6 separate regions of the Homo sapiens genome follow, and regions 1, 2, 3, 5 and 6 are each linked to region 4. Evidence: promoter capture Hi-C in human tissues and cell types (Jung and others, 2019). All regions are on one chromosome and are shown on one strand. The core of a region is centred on a gene start or on the middle of the fragment in contact, and the rest is flanking DNA. Distances in the headings are between cores, read along the strand shown. Region 1 overlaps MIR4527HG (MIR4527 host gene). Region 2 overlaps KATNAL2 (katanin catalytic subunit A1 like 2). Region 3 overlaps MIR4527HG (MIR4527 host gene). Region 4 holds the start of SKOR2 (SKI family transcriptional corepressor 2). Region 5 overlaps KATNAL2 (katanin catalytic subunit A1 like 2). Region 6 overlaps MIR4527HG (MIR4527 host gene).

Region 1 (3,073 bases), core at 472-2,971, 150 kb after region 4:
TGAACCACCACACACGGCCCAAGCCTTACTCTTAGCCACTGTGCCATCCTACCTCTCTGGTAGGAAATCTTTTCCTGCCTTGCATCTGACAACAGCTTCCTAGAACCTCAATCTCCTCATGAGGGGTGATCGGAGACATTCCAAAGCAGGGGGAGAAACTGGCAGAAAGATCCCTTGCCTGGCATGTGACACCAGGCTTTGCATATAGGGGACCCCATATATGCCTGGCACATGACACAGGGCTTTGCATATAGGGGACCCCATATATGCCTGGCACATGACACAGGGCTTTGCATATAGGGGACCTCATTCACTATGAGGGGAGGGAAGTAGGAGGCACAGAAAGAGGACTCTAAGAGGGTAGGGTCACATATAGAATTCCACGAGGAGACAAATATGACAGATGCCTAGCAGCCGGTGCCAGCCTTGAGCAGAAGAGAAGTTGGAGATGGTGATCTCTGGCACCCTTGGTCTGCCACCCTTGCCCAGGCCCGTTTCCCCCTCACTGGACTCCCACTCTCCTTTCAGCTGCCCACTGCGCCCTATGTCCTTATCTGCTTAATGTAATCCCAATCTCATGGAAAGGCCTTCTACCAGTTAGCTTGCATCATAACATGACTTTATAGAAAATCATGGAGGGACAACTGAGGATATGGAATTTACCCCCATTCCCTTTTATTTGACAGAAAAGAAAATTGAGGTGCAGAGAGGAGAAATCTACCTCCAAACTATATACAGAAAGTCAGTGGCAGGCTGGAAAGGGAGCCTAGGACTCCTGACTCCTAGTCTAGTGTGTGCATATGTGTACAATGTGTGCACTGGGTGTGGGTGCACGTGCATGTGTGTGTGTGTGCATGTGTCTATTTCCTGTTTGCATTTTAAATTTCATTTTGCACGGTGCAATTGAAGACATCCCCTCCTGCTAAGGAATAGAGACTTCAGGGAACACATGGGGAAAAACTGACAGCAGGGTATAGTCCTGATCTCTTAACATAGAGGTGGATGCCTACTCTACCTAGTCAGAGATTGAAGTCTCTTGACAATCAGTGAAAAGGAGGCAGATAGAAAGACCCACAGCTGTAGAGAAAATGAAGAATAGATCTGGAGCCAGGGCGGCTGGTTAGGGGAACCTGTTGACATAAGGTTCAGAAAATTCAGGTGCAGAGCTTTCTACTCTATTACAAATGTTTAGTCCTTAAGGCAGAGACAAGAGCTCAGGGCAGCTTAACTTTGCCTCCAGCTGCATTGGAATCAGAATGGACTTAGACCTGCAGATGCACAGACCAACATGGCAGCTCCTCCTGGGTCCTGGCCTTGCTGCTGATGGGATGAAGGCTGCCTTGGTTAAGGGTGGGCCAAGATTTCTGCTCTGAGGATTTTTCTTTGAAGTTTTATAAATCAGCCAGCAAGACAGCCAATTTCAAGCTGAGATGTCATATTGAAGGCCTCAACCCAAGATCAATTGCTGGCTGACTTTGATTCTCTGTCATGGAGCCTGGGCCAGTCTTGCCCCAACTGGGACATAGTCAAATCTTGACTTTTGATGCTTTCAACTCAGCCCTTCGTTCTTTTCTTGGCCCCAACCCTGCTCCCCGGGCAACTATTTTCCATGTTAAGGGGTTCATCGATTACCCTTTTGCCCTGGAGTACACTGATTCCAGAGGTGTTACCCCTCAGAGAATATCCTGCAATTTGGCTATGCTGCCATAAGGGGGCGATAGTTCCATTGACCAGGTACTAAGAATGGTAACGTGAGAGGAGAAAACTAGCAGCTGTAGTGTTCAGTTTGGCAGTGCCTTTTTAAAAATCTTGAATTCGTCACAAATATTTTAACAGTAGGAGCCTGCCCATAAAAATTCCGATTTGGGGCTTCTTTTGAAATATCAGGATATCTAGCAACATTCCCTCCAGCAGACAGCCAGCTGGTGCTGAGTAGGGACTGCCGCCTTGGGGCAGGATGTGCAGCCTCCTGTGGCCACTGTCCTCACCTGGCTGGCAGCCACTCATTTACATTACCCGTCTGCTTCCCAAAGCCCCTGTTTAAGCTTTAGGCATATTTGAGCTAGAGAGAATATTAATTAAAAAATTTAAATAGCATAGCTTTAAAAAAGTTAAAGCATCTGAACTTAGGTGGCAACCAAGGTCTGCACTTCCTTAGGATCAACTTTCAAGTAGACAAAAATCTAAGATTCTTTGATAACTCTCTTATACACTTGTCTTAAACTTGAACCAATTTCAGTTTTCAGAATATACCACACTTTCTCTTGATGGTGATCAATCATCCTCGATTGCCTGGTACTTAGGGCTTTCCTAGAATGTGGAACTTTGAGTGCTACAAAGAAGAAAGTCCTGGGCAAACCAGGACACATTGTTCAACCTGCTTATCTGTGGGCCACGCTGCCTACCTGGAATGCCTTCCCTTGGCCTGGCTCACCACTCCCGCACCCTTCGGGTCACAGCTTAGACAAATCTGCCTTGATTACCCCTCTCCCTACAGCCTGCACCAGGTATCCCCACTCCCCCTTGCACTGCAGTCTCCATCTGTGCTAATTTATCTGCTCACCTGTCTGCTTCCTGCTAGACCATGAGCTCCCAGGCATTGGCTCAAGGGTCTCCCACTCAAGGCTGAGCTCCCAGCACACAGCACAGTGCATGGCCCAGAGTAAGTGTTGAGTGCTGAATACAGACTAATTCCTCAATGATAAGGGGCAGGCACGATGTATAACTTGGATGTGCACCCCTTGCAGGCATGGGACATGGCAGGTGCCCAATAAAGCGTTTATTGTATTGAATTGCATTAAACTGGGCCAAAGATTTGGATGGACATAGATCTCTTCTGATGAATGAAGAGGATAAAGTGAAATAATGATCTCTCATGACAGTCTCTTTCACCCTGTTTTGACTGTGACTCTTCTTTTTTATTTCCTGGGTGTTCCTCATTTTCCTAAGTAGACACTAAGCCCTCCTGTGGGCAGATACCATGCCCTATGCAATTTGTGTGTTCCTCTTTTAACAGGCATGCTAAAAGAAAAAAAAAGACATATTGAATTGATGTGTTTCAACCAAAGTGGGC
Region 2 (2,862 bases), core at 10-2,509, 150 kb before region 4:
TTGGAAGAATTAATGTACTTAGAGTGCCCAACTTATTGTCAGCAATAATTTACTCACTGGCAAGATCGGACTGAATAATTCATGTTACAACTGCAATCAGAATACTCATGATTGCTGGTTGTTAGTTGGTTTTTGTACCCCAAATTAAGTCGCATAAAATTACTTCCTTTTCATTAGTTCTGAGAATGTGCTCTTTTCCTTTTCTTCCATTCATCCTTCCTTCCTTCTCTTTCTTCTCCTTCCTTTCTGCTTTCCTCTCTTCCCTTCCTTCCCTCCCTCAGTTCTCTTTCTCACCAATTCTTTCTCCAAATAATATTAATTGTCCCATCCACTCAAGGCATAGATGTAGAGTGACAGTTAAAATGCAGAATTGCTTCCTGCAATGCTAAATTGTTCTTAAAGTACAGTTGTTGTTCAGGAAGTGTGTTTGCAGCCCTGTCCAGCTCCATTTCTGGTGTGATTTCAGGGAGCTGGACTGTGCCATGTTACGCCGCCTGGAGAAGAGGATTCTGGTCGATCTCCCCAGCCGGGAGGCCAGGCAGGCCATGATCTACCACTGGCTGCCTCCTGTGAGCAAGAGCAGGGCCTTGGAGCTGCACACAGAGCTGGAGTACAGTGTGCTGAGCCAGGTCAGCTGCCCTGGAGAGGGGCACATGTAGGTCAAGGGCCCACCATATGGCCATCTTGTAGACCAGGTCTTACCATGAGCTGATAGAAGCTTGAGACACTTAGAATAAGATCCAAGCTGCCCCCGTAATGCAATGGGCATCTTCACGAAGAATAAGCTCCTTTTCACTTAAAAATATTCAGAGAAGGAGAAACAATGTGAGGCAGTGGAAACAGCATAGGGTTTAGACTCAGAGAACCTATGGTCAAATCCTGGCCCTGCTGCTTGTTAGCTGTGTGACCTCGGAGAAGTCACTTACTCTTTGAGCCTGTTTCTTCATCTGTAAAATGGGTAGCAGATGAGCCACAAAGAATGACTGTGATGATTACATAACAGAAAAACTCCAGGTACATGTCTATTATGCCCATTATCACTGGTGTCCATTCCCAGGGTGTTGCAGAAATGTTGCCTGCTTTTGGTGAACATTTGAACACAATGTTCTCTGAGGTTCCTAAATGGCAGGTATGATCTTATTTACAAGAATAAACGTGCCTACCAAATTTGACCATCCTTGGATTTGAGCACAGGGGCCCTGATAGGCTAACTTGGGTGTTCTGATCCTTCACTGGCATCTTACAGCATATTTCGATGGTGTTAGAAAGCCATTCTAGCCCAGCTGCTTAGGTTATCCCAACATGCTAGCAGGGTCTCTTCCTCAAGCACTGTTTATCTGGGAATCTTTTTAGGATGTTCATGGGTGACAGATACAGAATCTACACAGGGCTTCTGATACTGGGTCCTGCCTATAACAACGTAATGGCCAGGAGCATTCTGCCCACTGACCAATGGCTGGTTTTTTGGCTGTTTCAGGAGACTGAGGGCTACTCAGGCTCAGATATTAAGCTCGTCTGCAGGGAAGCAGCCATGCGGCCCGTGAGGAAGATCTTTGATGCACTTGAAAATCACCAGTCAGGTATGGGTTGGATCACCATGAAGGTGTTCCAGGAATTTGTGTAAAAATCCCTCTCACCAGCAGATGGAGCCTGGCGCCTGTTCTTGGTGCCGCTTTACACTTGGCAATGCGTTTTTTGGTCAAATCATCCCTCACTCAACTCATTCCTCCGTGGGTGTTCTGATTTGGATCGACTTTGCTTGCAGATGATAAACTCCTTAGGGCTCAGGCTTTTATTTCTCTGGCACACTCTGATGTTGGGCTGGATCCATTTGAGGCACTATATAAATATTAAATAATACCTGGTAACGATACATTTAGGTCACATTTTTTTGTCTGGGCCTTAGGGGCTAACTCAGTTGCACGTTAAAGAATTTTTCCCCAGCCCTCTTTAGTCTTGCCTTTTGCTGCATTAACAATTAAGAATGCTGCATTATGCATTATTTTGAAAGAAGGTCTATTAGCGTTTCAAGAGCATTGATCACCAAGAGGTCGATTGTTGTGCTGTTACTGTTGTGTTCTTATCCTAGAAAGCAGCGACTTACCCAGGATCCAGTTGGATATAGTAACCACTGCCGACTTTCTGGATGTGCTAACTCACACCAAGCCCTCCGCAAAGAATCTGGCTCAGAGATACTCAGACTGGCAAAGAGAGTTCGAGTCTGTCTGAAACCACATTTACCCTGACCTGGCCACAAAGGCAACCACAAAGACCTCCTAGTTTATTAATGTCCGTGGGAGAACAAAATGATTGGAATGGAAAAGAGAAAATTATTTTTGAAGACTGGATTAACTTGAGCCACTGTATTGTTTTGGATAGCTGAGATATATTTATTAACTTACCATTATCGATGTCAGCAAAATATTGAGAGTTTCAGTTACATACATATATGTGCTATTGGGTCATACAATGGAGATTTTTCTGACAATTAGACTCCATAAAATTTTAATGAACAATTTTCTGTAATGTTACTCATTTGTAAACTTTTTAAGAAAAAGATGTACTTAGAAAAGTTGTGTTGGCCACACACAGGATGACCCTGAGTTGGGGCAGCCAAGTAGAAGCTAAGCTTGACAGGCACTGCCCAGCTGACAGTCCCAGGGTGAAGGAGGACGGAAGCAGGGAAGGCAATGCAGTCTGTTTCTCATTCCGGACAATATTCTGAATCTCATCAGCTCCCCCTAATTCTGACTCCATCCAGCTTTGTCAGCAGCAAACCCCTCCCAAACTAAGCCCCACTCAGAAATGTCACTGAGCATTCTGATGCTAGAGCTAATAGCCAGGGTGACTAGCACACCATCA
Region 3 (2,896 bases), core at 322-2,821, 210 kb after region 4:
AGGGAAGACAGGAAAAGGGAGAGAGGAAAGAGAGGGGGAGAAGAATGAGATGAGAGGGAAGAGAGGAAGAGGAAGAGAGAAATGACAGAGGGAAAAGAAAGAGGGAGAGAGGAAAGAGGGATGGATTAGAGAGGTAAAGAGAGGGAGAGGGAAGGAGAGAGAGAGAGATTGATTTTCAGTGTATATTGTTACCACTGTGGTTACTCCAGGAGAGAGGACACATGGAAAGGGCTATTTGTTGGGACTTCCAGCTGTTCCGTATGTATTTATCAGCCAGATTCTAGCCCCCTGGGCACCCTCTGAGTTTCCTTCCAGTTCTGACCATACCTGGACTTCTAGCAAGCTTCCTTCCCTCCCCTTTTCCTTCCTGGGCCCGGACCTGAGCCAAAGTGTAAAGTTTGCATATTTCATCTACAGTGCTCCTGCCTCCCTGCTTTACCATCTCCTCCATCTGAGACCCCATTATCTCCAACCAGGCCCATGATTATCTTCCCCACTCCCTTCAAAACCTCATCTCAGGAAATGTGTGCGTGCATGTATGTGCATGCATGTGTGCATGTGTGTGTTTGCAGGGGTCACATGATTTATTTCATTCACATGAGGGTAAATGACCCAGGGCAATGCAACAGGGCTTCTTTTTTCAGGGGTATTTGTACCTCAACAGAGATCAACTTGTATAATCAAACAACTTACTTTTGGGGCCTAGAACCGGGAAGGAAGAAGGAATGGGAAGGAGCTTTAGTTATTTCCTTTCTATGTCTTTGTATAGTTTGACATTTTTTCCAGTGAAGATGCATGATTTTTATTATCATGGTCTCCTATCTCAAGTAGATGAACAAGCAGCCTAAAGAGGACATTTAAGGCATCAGCCAGAGGCAGTTAGCCATTCTTCTCCTTGACAGTCCCAACCCTCTGAAGTCACCTGCCTGGCATGGGAGCTGCTCCTGGGCTGACCTGTGAAGACAGGAGGTTGGTCAACAAGGCCAGAGAAGGGGGAAGTAAACTGGGTGGGGCAAATGGGGAGAGAGCCAAGAAACGCCTCCTGAAGCCCTTGTAGAATCTGGATTTTTGCGAGGGATTGAAAGTCTCCCCGCAAGACAAAGAGCAGCTATGGCTTCTTAACTGTGACAGATGTGAATTCTACAAAGCTGTGGAAGAAACATTCTACCCGAAATGAGTGCCTGCTCTGCATTGGCAGGATTTGGACAGTTTCTGCCCCTGGAGAGACAGAACTACAGGATGACTTGGGTGGTCACATAGGTGGGCGCTGGAGGCAGAGGGCCCAGATTTGAATTACAGTTTTGTCACTTGCTTTCTAGTAACCTTGGGCAAGTTACTCAAGCACTTTGGACATCAGTTTTCTCGTCTGTAAGGTGGGAGTAATAGTAGCATCCACCTCACAGGGATGTTGTAAGCATTAAAGGAGTCAAAAGGGTACATGCACTTAGAACATCAGCTGGCACATGGAACATGCTATATGTTCATTAGCCATTAGGAGAGTTGACGAAATTGTAGCTTTTTGTCTCTGAGTGCAGTGGGGCTTGGGCTGGCCTAAGCTGGTATGCAATGTGAGTTCAGGTCTGTTGATGCATGCATGGAAGACAGGGGCTGTCCTTAGTCTACCTGCATGGGCACTGAGGAACTCCTGGGGATGAAGCCCTTCTGAGGTAGAGCATGTATTGTAGGTCCAGGTCTGTCAAAGGAGTGTGATTCTGTACAATGACTGGTTTTCAGACTGACCCCCTCCTGGTCCTCAAGACCCAGGCCTGGTTCCTAGAGAGGCTAGAGGCTGCAGGGAAGGAACGAACAAGCAAAATTGATAGGAGCTGACAACAAGCATTTGTGTAAGGCACAGAGAACACCAGGCAGCAGCCTCTGCTCAGGGTCAGTAGAAGTGAGCATGGGGAAAACCTGCAGGGAGAGTCTGAGCAACTGCGCCTGACGCTGTACCCCGAGGCCTGAGCTGGGCAGAAGAGAAGACTAAAGACCAAATCTCGTGGTAACTGGGAGACATCCCCAGGACTCCTTGGCAAAAATTGGAGGTGGCAGCAGTTGCCGTAGAGTGAGTAGGATCAATCCTAGAAAAAAGGTGAGCTTGTTGTAATAAAAGGAAAAACCTAAAATGCTGTTTATGATGGCACCTGCCGTCTAAGGAGATGGGGGGCCTATTTCAGAAAAGGCCAGTTAACTCCTGTGAAGTTTCTCAAGCTCTTGGTGCTGAAGGAGTAGTTTTATTTAAAAAATTTTTCAATTTGTCATATACTGATACTTTTGGAGAATCAACAAAAATGAATCATTAGAAACATGAAATTAAAAAAATGTACAAACTACAAGCCCCAATTTTTCAAATTATTAGAATCCACAGACATAAAATTACCCCATCAAACTGCTGTGAGTTTGTAAATGCCTAATCTCAATTTCTGGACTTATTTCTTCATGGACTGGTATCAAAAGTTCAGGGCCTGCCCTGATCAATCTAGGATCAATCACTGTGAGTCACATGGGATCTGATCTCATGGAGACACTGATGTTGGGATCAGCAGTTAAGGGCTATCTGCCTCAAGACTAAGGAAGTGGGAAGACTGTGTTAATGTCCTATGGTTGCCACACTGAGTGGCTTGAAGCAACAGAAATATATTCTCTCACAGTTCTGAAGACCAGAAGTCCCAAATTAAGGTATCAGCAGGGCCGTGCTCTTGCTGAAGGCTCCAGGGAGACTCTTCCCATGTCCCTTCCTATCTTCTGGTGGCCTCAGGCAATCATCGGCCACATGACTCCAGTCTCTCACTTCATCTTCACATGGCTGTCATCTCTCTCTGTGTCTGCGTGTCCTCAAATCTCCCTCTCCTTATGAGGACACCAGTCATTAGATTTAGGACCCACCCTAATCCAATAT
Region 4 (3,061 bases), core at 486-2,985:
ACCTACTTGCTGAACTGAGTGGTTCTGGTCTCAGATGGTTAGGTAGCTTAAAAACATGAAGTTGAAGATGGTAGTCATTTAAAAACTGTTTTACTGTCATTTCCATGACGATAAGAAAGTAAGTAGAGGCAAGGGTGTTAAACCCAGAAACAGTACACAGGAATGAACAATTCTTGGGGATCTTCATTGGCAGACTTCAAAAGGCAAATTTTTTAGCTTGATGTGAACCACCTTCTGTGACTCTTTTCCCCTAATTTATTTTGATATCTCTATATCTTTATGGGGAAAAGCTGCCCCACCATACAGCCAATCGGTGGACTAGGTAATCTATGGGAGTGTTGAAAGTCGAAATCCCAGGTTGGGTCTGTGGTAAAATTTCTAACTTCACCTCCAGTCAACAGAATGCCACAATGAGGGAAAATATTCAGTAAGTTGAAAATACAGAACAAGGAAGCGGAAAGAAATTTTAGTGACAATGCCACTAAGTGGAAAGAAGGAAAGTGGCTCACTCCCTAGGAAAACAAACACTGATCTTTCCACAGCTACATCTCAAGCGCATTGGCCAAGGCATGCTTTGCCCTGAAAAATCACCAGAGGCCATAGCGTGGCCCCTTTCGGCCACGTACAGCGAGTTCGCTATTACAGTGCTTTCAGAGGGTACACGATCTTACTCCCTCACCCAATTTCTTATCCGTGTCCTCTCTCTGGGCCCCTGTGGCATCTATACAGCAGCCTCTGTCCTGCTGCCCCCTGGATCCTCAGTTCTCATTACATTTGGCGGCCTCCAGGAAGCTTGAACAAACCTCGACGCGATCAAAGGAGAGGAAAGCCTGCTTGTCACTTTGGGTGGATCAGAGACAATATTTCCAGGGGACAGGGCGTTACATGGCAGTTCAAGGCGCAGTGACACCCGAGTCTGATACAACCAACACTAGCTTCGTCAGGTGGCCCTTCGATGCTCATTTCCCTACCAAACAAGATTCATATCCGCTTAATAAGACCCTGGGATAATTCCAACTCTCGCTCCCCAGCAAGGCGCGCGGCTGGCCAGCCGGGGCGGGAAGCTGGCTCTGCGTTAAGGACTCGCAGCCTTAGCAGCAGTAGACCAGGCAGAAGTGTCTCCTCACTTTTACCCCAAGCCCTCCCAGAAACTGCCGTCAGAGCAGACACAAGGTTTTGGTTGGGGCATTATTTTTTGGGTGGGTGGGGAGGGGAGAAGAGACAATTAAAAGTTAGTTGAACTGAGAAAGGAACCTGGTGAACTTCCCTATCCTGCCCAACAGCCAAAGACCCCCCCACCCCCAACTTAGTTCTCCCGACTCCCAAACCAGTCACCACGGAAGCCCACCGCTGCCCCTCAACCTAACGCGGAAAATCCTACCGCTGGGGATCTCAAATAGGTGCCCAGCAAGCTGTGTGCCGGATTGGGGCGGCCGGTTCCGGCAATACCTGGTAACCTCTGGGTGTCTTTAGGCGTGTGGCTGCCGGCCCATCTTCCGAGGGCGCTCGGAGGCGAAGCATCCAAGCGGGTCCTCGTATCCAGCGGGCGGGACTCTGGCGGGCTCCGCGCGAAGATCCGGGCTCTGGCCCGAGCGAATGGCGCTCAAACCCCGGCCTGGGGAGAATGACGGCCTGAATTGCGGCGGGGCGTCCCCTCCACCGCAGAAAGTGTGGGTACGCAGAAACCCGCGGCAGGAGAGCCCCAAGTGGAGCGCAGTCTGACAGCGTCTGTCTCTGAACTCGTGTCGGACCGAGGGGACGCCACCCAGCGGGCAGGGTGACGTCACCGTCTCCCTGACACTCCACATTAAAGGGCTGGCATGTTACAGGGAGGGAGGGGGAGAGCGAAAGCCAGCGCGAGCAACAGAGAGATCCTTTCTCAGCAGGCACGAAAGCTACCAACCTAACCAACTCGCAATTGACAACAACCTCCTCAGCCCCGGAGTAAACTGCAGCAATGGTGCTGGAGCCGCAGATCTGATTTAGGAGTGGAAAGCGAACAGTCTGCCTGCATCCCGGGACCTAGATCCTGGAGGCCCCGGATTCTAGAAGGACGCCTCCAAATTAACTATATCCCTGACCGTTATTGTCTCCTCCCCTCATTTCTGAGTCACCCTCCTTCATGAATGATCCCTCTGGTACAGGATGCAAAGCTGCTCTGTGTCTGAAGACAGAATCCACAGTCAGCTGGAGAATAAATTAGCTTCAGTGACTCCTTTGAAACGCTATGAAATGAGAAAAAGGAGAGAAGTTTCCACATAGGGTGCCCAATCAGAAAACTTGGAGTGCCCCGACTTTTGCATATACATTTGCTTTATAGGACAAGATGCAGAGTCACTGCAGCCTTCTCTATTTTATGGAGTGTACAATTAGGTGAGGACCCCAATATGTGCATATGCACATCGATTTATCAAACTTCATTCAGAATCGTCCTCTAACCCATTTTACAAGATCCGTAAGGCTACCTCTACACAAGGAAAGGGTGGGGCAGGGAAGCAGGGAGGTCCCCCACATGGAAGAGTCCTTCAGCAAGTTGCCAATTTTCCTGGAGAAATAAATAAATTTAATCAGGAAAACATGTAGAAGCATGATCTCCTCCCCTAAAATAAAGACTAGGATGAGAAAACATTTCCTCACAGTTTCCCTAAATGAGGCGCACCCTAGTGTATTAATGAAGTGTCAATATAGTGCGTCCCAATTGACCAGCTGTTAAGAGTCAAAACGACCACTGGCTAGTTTATCGGAAAGGAAAGAAACCACTTATTTGGAGTATGTTCTAAGAAGGATGCCGGCTGGGGTGGGGCTGGGAAATCCTTTAAGTTTTTCCTTTACTACCATAGCTGAATTTTCAATTGCTGCCTAGTGAAACAGTCCTAGCATTGTGGAAATGATGGAAAAACATCTACCAAGCTGAAAGCCCACCCAGATTGTGTCATAGCACCAACAACATACCACTCCTAAATACAAGAGCAAAAATGTGAAATCTTAACCTTCATCAAAGGTTAATAAACCCAAGGAAAGTCAATTGAACAGAAACGTGAGGGGCTTGTTGCTCAGGAGT
Region 5 (3,064 bases), core at 90-2,589, 190 kb before region 4:
TGTACCCAGCACTCTATTGAGTGGTGAACGTGTATCACAATCCATAGACAGGAACTCTCATTACCATTGTGCCAATGAGTTCTTTCTGCATGTGTAATATTTTAAGAGGATAAGACCATACAGGGGAAGTCAACATATAAGGGAGGAAGCAGATGGTCTGTGTCAGGAACTGAGAAATACTCATGAATTTTTATTCAAATCCACTTCATTCTGGAAAATGTACTTACAATTTTTTAAGGTGCTCCAACTTGAGGAAATCATCACGTTTAATACTAGTGCTGGTTCTTTTTAAAGCTTAACTTGAAGTTTGCCCTATATACCAGGGTCTATAAATGTGTCTTGGTTTAATGAAACTGAGTTATTAAGAAGAGTCTTCTCTTATGTTCTCATGGCATAAATAACCATTCCTCCCTTTCAGGGCCAAATCATTGACTTCCAAGGGCTGCTCACAGATGCCATCAAGGGAGCAACCAGTGAACTTGCCTTGAACACCTTCGACCATAATCCAGACCCCTCAGTAAGTGGCGAAGATGTGACATTCATCTTTCAAATTGCCAACATCCAGATGAACTCTGGAAATATAATTTTGAGTACAGTGAAACCTTGAGATCAAGTTAAAGGCCATAGCCACCTGCCATCGTTTGTTTCACCAAGACCTGTGCATGCCCGGGGTTTCTTCCTAAATTATGAAGCAATATTGTAATGTGAGCCTTTCCGCTCCTCTCATCAGGAACGACTGCTGAAACCTCTGAGTGCATTTATTGGCATGAACAGTGAGATGCGAGAATTGGCAGCCGTGGTGAGCCGGGTAAGATCTGATATTCAATTCACAAATTTATGGAGGCAGGCTGGGGCTTCTGGAGCTTTGTGGGCTGCTTCTTTTATTAATAACAATAAATATGATCATTTATTTATAAAGTGCCCCCACTTGCGCAGGCACTCATATTGTTTAGAGGCACAATAATGCATGATAAATAAATTATAGAGTCATAAAATTACAATATACAAACCCCACCATCTCATGATAGAGGCCAAGAAAACCAAGAGAGAAAAAGACTTAGGAATGAAGGGACAGGTGAAAGGTTTTATAGCAGAGCCAAGAGTCAAGGAAAGAAAGCCTCTTAAAGAAGAAAAGAGTATGTCTGCATCTGGTTTAAAAAGTCAGAGCCTAGAAATAGAGACGTCGGGAGTCTGATGATATCATCATTGAAAATCTCCATGAAAAACACAATTAGCAGGAAAGACTACCATCCAGACTACGGACTTTTCCAGCTTGCACTGTGGAACCAGAAGGCAGTGAAGAACAGGCTTTGGAATTAGCTGACCTGCCTTTGATTTCTAGATCCTTCTCTTGCTAGCTGTGTGACTTTGGGCAAGTTCCTGGGAAATAAAATAGATTCCTGAGTTATAGGGTATTTTTCTAATTTCTATTGCTTCATATTTAATTGAAGACTGAAACCTAGGCAGGCTCAGAGGGGGGTTTAAAATGATCCCCAAAATTCACAGCTCCTCTGAGAAGCTAAGGGCTCCTGAGCTGTCTCTGTTCAGCTCAGCAGTTGTTTCCTGTATGCCTCTTGTGTGTCAGGTGTGTGCTGTGGGCTGGAGACACAAATGTGAACGAGTCAGAGCATAGTCCTTGCCCTCAAGAGTTTCTCATCCCAGGGACAAAGTGCACTTTAAGAGCATGAAGGAGGGAGGGGTGGGGAAAGTGTTAGGAAAGAAGACAGGAAATCGCTAAGGGAAAAAGTGGAAGAGGGAGGCTAGGAGCTGTTCTGGGCATAGGCACTTCCATGAGAAATTGCAGTTTGTGCACATGTCCTGTGGGCCACCTAAGAAGCAGGGAGTGGTGGGGAACGGGTGGAGAGAGGCAGGGTTCCTGAGGAAGGGTGCTGTGAGCAGTACCCAGGGCTGAGAACACACCTATAGAAGAGGGGACCTTAGAAAGGCGCCCGTCGGAGGATGGGATCATCCCATGTGCTTGTGGATGGCTTGTTCTATGACAGTGAGATGAATGAATAGCAAAGAAAAGGAGATGGGGAGACCATCTATAAGGTTTTTACCAGTGAGAGGGGATGAGGGACTGAGCCAGGCTGCAGTAACCCCAAATTAATAGTCTCATTACCATTTTTGCAAAAGGGTAACATGACTATGAGGATAGAACTATAGAGTGGAAATGGCCTGAGATGATTCCATCTGGAATCCTTTCTATAGTAGCATAGGAGGTAGAAACCCTGCTCCTGCTTGAATGCTTACAGTGACGGAGAGCTCACCACCTCATGAGGTAGTCCTGTTGAGTTCTGACTGTTAACTTTGGATTGATACAAGGAGAAACTGTCAGTTGGGAAATTAAACATTACCTTGTGGAACTCAACTCTAGAAGAGGTCAAGAAATACTGCTGTTATCTATGGATGCTTTTAATACCTAGGTAAATGAATCTTCCTTGTGTGCCGAGATTTCACTAAGAAAGGACGGTAATAAGAATGTGAGTGGCTGGTGGGCCTGCATGTAGATCCAGGCTCTATAGACAGAATAAGGAAGACTGAGTCCTTTCTCTACCCTTCAATCCAAGAATGGATTGTAAATATCATGCATGACCAAAGTACTTTTATAAATACTTTCTCTAGACCAGATGCAGTGGCTCACACCTACAATCCTAGCACTTTGGGAGACTGAGATGGGTAGATCACTTGAGGCCAGGGGTTTGAGACCAGCCTGGCCAACATGGCAAAAACCTATCTCTACTGAAAATACAAAACATTAGCCAGGAGTTGGAGACCAGCCTGGGCAACATAATGAGACCCCATTTCTAGAGAGCATTAGCTGGTATATGTGGGTTTCCCAAGATCGACTGTGGGACTTGAGTATGCACAGATTTTGGTATGGGGGAGAGTGTCGGGGGGGGAACAGGGAGAGGTTCTGGAACCAATCTCTTCCATATGCCCAGAGACCATTTCTAGAGACCCCATTAGCTAGGCATGGTGGCATGTGCTGGTAGTCCTAGCTACCTGGGAGGCTGAGGCATGAGAATCACTTGAACCTGGGAGGCGGAGGTTGCTGCACTGT
Region 6 (2,942 bases), core at 154-2,653, 240 kb after region 4:
TCTTGGCTGTGAGGTGTTGGACAAATCACTTTCCCACTCATGGAGTGCAAGGGCATCAGTGGTTTTCAAACTGTGTTCACTGACAATCCCGGAGCCCCACCATAGGCAGGAGGTGAGGGAAGGAGAAAGGCCCAGGTGACAGGGAGGTGGTTGCCCAAGTTGTTTCAACCAGAACAGCCTTACTTTTCTGCATTTTGTGCATTGGGCTGCCAAAGGAGATTTGCTTTGGCAAAGGGTTCTATTGCTTGGACAAGTTTGGCCACCATTCTATCTGGTTGGTGCTCTCTTGGCTCCCATGTGGGAAAGTTTATGGGAAAGTCCTAACAGAGAAAGAGCTCCTACCATCTTGACCCCCAGGAAGGTGACCCAAAGGAAGTGAGAGAGATGTCAGAAGTTTAGAGTTTACAGAAGTAGCAGGGGAGACAGTTGGAGACACAGGCAGCAAACACAGGCCACATGGTGGAGTTTGAACTGTATCTTGATCAGGAAGTCTTTGAAGTGTTTTAAACAAGGAGGCACAGTCAGATTTGGAACTAAGAAAGATCAAGCCTGAGGTATGGTCACATGGCCCAGGACACTCCTGAAACAGCGCCTCCAAAATGTATCTGGAACAAACTTTTCCCTAGCCTCTGCCTCCATCTTTCTCTCCATGCCTCTCCTTTGGGAGGTGATGAGGTGGATCGGGGTTCAGAGGAAAGTAGAATTGACAGGTAAACAATAGAGCCTGGATCCCCCTGCAGGCTCTCAGCTCTTTGAGGACACCCCTCCCCTCTTTCCCCTCAAGCTTCCTACAATGAGGACAAGGAGACCACCCCTTGGGGGCTCCCCTCCTGCTCCAATCAATTCTCCTCAATTACCAACAAATCTAAATGTGATTTATCTGTGCAAGAATCATTCCAATATCACGCGAGAATCTATCAATAAAACCCCCAAGGCAATCTTGCTTAGAGTTGTCAATAGAAGCTCTAAAGCACAAAGGCATAGCAGCTAGCAATCAGGGTATTTTTGCCTCCCTCCCCCCTTTTTGGGGAGCACTTAATTAAGTCGACCAGAAGCTGTCAAAGATAATTTTCAAAGCACATGACCTCAGCAGCTGACATTTGATAATATTACATTCCACGTTGATTGAAATTGATTTTCCCCTCTTTTTGGGGGGGATGGAGAAAAGGGGGGAGGGTGAGGTCACAGAAGAGGGGAGGCTTAGATCTCTTTCACTGTGGTACTCAGCCCAGACCAGCAACGTGTGGGGTCACCACAGGCAGGCTGTTGGGCTCTCCTACCTTCAATGGAACCAGGGCTGGGCAGCTGTTTTCCAGCTGAGCCGCCATCCAGAGCCGGTGGGTGGAGCTCCACTTGGGAGGAAAGATACAAGAACCTGGTGTGCAAGGACCGGAAGCTGACACACAAATAGCACCCAGCAAAGTTGACGGTATCCAATGGCCTCTGTTTGCTGGGAAGATATTGGCACTAGAGGGGCAGAGCACAATGAGAGGTGGCAATTGGCTGGTTTTGGTTAAGTTTGTTTCTCACATTTGGCCATTTAGTCTATAATGGATGTGCTAGGTCACTATGGAGGTTGGCTTTCCTTTGACTTTACTGCTGTTAGAGAAGCTCATTCCAGCATCTCCAAAACCCCCACCCCGAACCCTCCTCTGAACCTGAATAAGGGCATGCCGGCAGTCACAGTCTTCTCATTACTCCACCAGTGCAAATCTCTAAATTCCTCAATAGACCCAGAGTAGTCCTCATGCAGACACCCACCCCTCATCCAAATGATGTTCATCCTCGGAGTAGGCTCAGCCTTGGTTCTTGTCCTACAGTGCGTGTGGGATGCTGACCATTTGGCTTCTTGGTTTCTGGATCCTTGGCATTAACTCCTGGTGTTGACTGACCCCTTGGCTGACCAGTTTGTGTCTTACTTCTGGCTCTAGGTAAAAAGGAGGTCTCTAACCTCTGTTCCCAATCCTTGGTTTTTCATGTGTTCCTGCTTTGAAGCACTGGCTGGGACCAGAACACTGACCTCCACACTGGACTTAGTGCATGGACAGGGCATTGCAGACTCAAGATGAAGTTGCATTTAAGATCTCAGGCCCCTGGTTGGTTGTGCTCTTGGCATATTTGTATCCCTAGCATGGACACCTTCTTTCCTAGGTTTTTGAGGCCTTGGGCTGAGGTTTTCTTTAGAGACCTCTGCTAAGACTTCTTATGGAGGGAAGGGAAGGAAACCTTGAAGACACTTCCCCACTACCCAGGATTTTCCACTCCTAGCCTTCCCCCTTGACATCCTCCACCCCCAGCGTCCCTAAAACTAACAGAGCTTTTGGTCTGAGGCTCCTCAACAGTGAGATCAGCCCCACGTCTGTGCCGTTCCGAGGGAAAACAGAACAGAGAGAGCTGGTATTTCCTCCAGTTTTAGACTCTTGCTTTTACCACTGCAGGAAGTGATTCAAGGCTTAACCCTTTCATTTTTGGCTTGTCATTTTAATCAGCCTCTCTGACACCTGACAGCTCAGCACCCTCTCCCAGCTCAGCTGAGCTCCTGCCAACTTTAACACATGAGTGACACTGACTAGATTGAGGCCTGGGAAAGGCATTCCAGGAAACGGGTATGGCATAAAGGAGGTAAGAGGCACAAGCAGCTCTGGGGCTTTTTCAGCCAATCTTGAGCTGGAGGAGATAATAGTGAAGAGTGTACAGCTACGAAGGGGAGGGGAGTTTAGACTTGGTGCAGGAGGCACAGGGCCCACGAGGTCTTGGTCCTATTCATACATCCTGTTTTAAAAAGGAAAAACAAGCCATTATAAGTTTTGAGCCAGATGTTTAAAGGCAGTGTGGTCCAGTTGGAAAAGTACTAGACTGGGAGAGAAGACTTGGACTTTAAGTCTCTGCAACTAGCTGTGGGCAAGGCATGTCGCCTTTCTGAGCCTCCACTTTCTCATTTG

The links. Contacts are between HindIII fragments. The study calls those that stand out against the background at their distance.
Region 1: a fragment that was not itself captured here is called in contact with the fragment with the promoter of SKOR2 in region 4 in 2 of the 25 tissues and cell types used here (spleen and thymus).
Region 2: a fragment that was not itself captured here is called in contact with the fragment with the promoter of SKOR2 in region 4 in 2 of the 25 tissues and cell types used here (liver and mesendoderm cells).
Region 3: a fragment that was not itself captured here is called in contact with the fragment with the promoter of SKOR2 in region 4 in 2 of the 25 tissues and cell types used here (bladder and heart right ventricle).
Region 5: a contact is called between a fragment that was not itself captured here and the fragment with the promoter of SKOR2 in region 4, in 2 of the 25 tissues and cell types used here (pancreas and spleen).
Region 6: a fragment that was not itself captured here is called in contact with the fragment with the promoter of SKOR2 in region 4 in 5 of the 25 tissues and cell types used here (heart left ventricle, lymphoblastoid cells, mesendoderm cells and 2 more).

What each region holds. Positions count from the first base shown.
Region 1 is chr18:47,396,164-47,399,236 of GRCh38, forward strand. All of the region lies in intron 1 of MIR4527HG (MIR4527 host gene), which reads left to right. Among named protein-coding and RNA genes, the nearest start is that of MIR4527, 17 kb to the left of the region's middle. The HindIII fragment of the contact is 8,960 bases long and covers 1-3,073 here.
Region 2 is chr18:47,098,777-47,101,638 of GRCh38, forward strand. It overlaps KATNAL2 (katanin catalytic subunit A1 like 2), which reads left to right. Exons shown (of 18, transcript NM_001387690.1): 16 at 467-629; 17 at 1,478-1,580; 18 at 2,090-2,862. The coding sequence ends at 2,229. Among named protein-coding and RNA genes, the nearest start is that of HDHD2, 50 kb to the right of the region's middle. RefSeq lists silencers at 1,563-1,775, 1,611-1,720. The HindIII fragment of the contact is 3,099 bases long and covers 1-2,809 here.
Region 3 is chr18:47,458,743-47,461,638 of GRCh38, forward strand. The region is part of intron 1 of MIR4527HG (MIR4527 host gene); the gene reads left to right. Among named protein-coding and RNA genes, the nearest start is that of MIR4527, 80 kb to the left of the region's middle. The HindIII fragment of the contact is 4,473 bases long and covers 1-2,896 here.
Region 4 is chr18:47,249,925-47,252,985 of GRCh38, forward strand. It overlaps SKOR2 (SKI family transcriptional corepressor 2), which reads right to left and starts at 1,736. Exons shown (of 9, transcript NM_001278063.4): 1 at 1,450-1,736. RefSeq lists an enhancer at 1,604-2,120. The HindIII fragment of the contact is 10,120 bases long and covers 1-3,061 here.
Region 5 is chr18:47,062,554-47,065,617 of GRCh38, forward strand. It overlaps KATNAL2 (katanin catalytic subunit A1 like 2), which reads left to right. Exons shown (of 18, transcript NM_001387690.1): 9 at 419-517; 10 at 731-808. Among named protein-coding and RNA genes, the nearest start is that of ELOA2, 28 kb to the left of the region's middle. The HindIII fragment of the contact is 5,865 bases long and covers 1-3,064 here.
Region 6 is chr18:47,488,578-47,491,519 of GRCh38, forward strand. All of the region lies in intron 1 of MIR4527HG (MIR4527 host gene), which reads left to right. Among named protein-coding and RNA genes, the nearest start is that of MIR4527, 110 kb to the left of the region's middle. The HindIII fragment of the contact is 4,740 bases long and covers 1-2,942 here.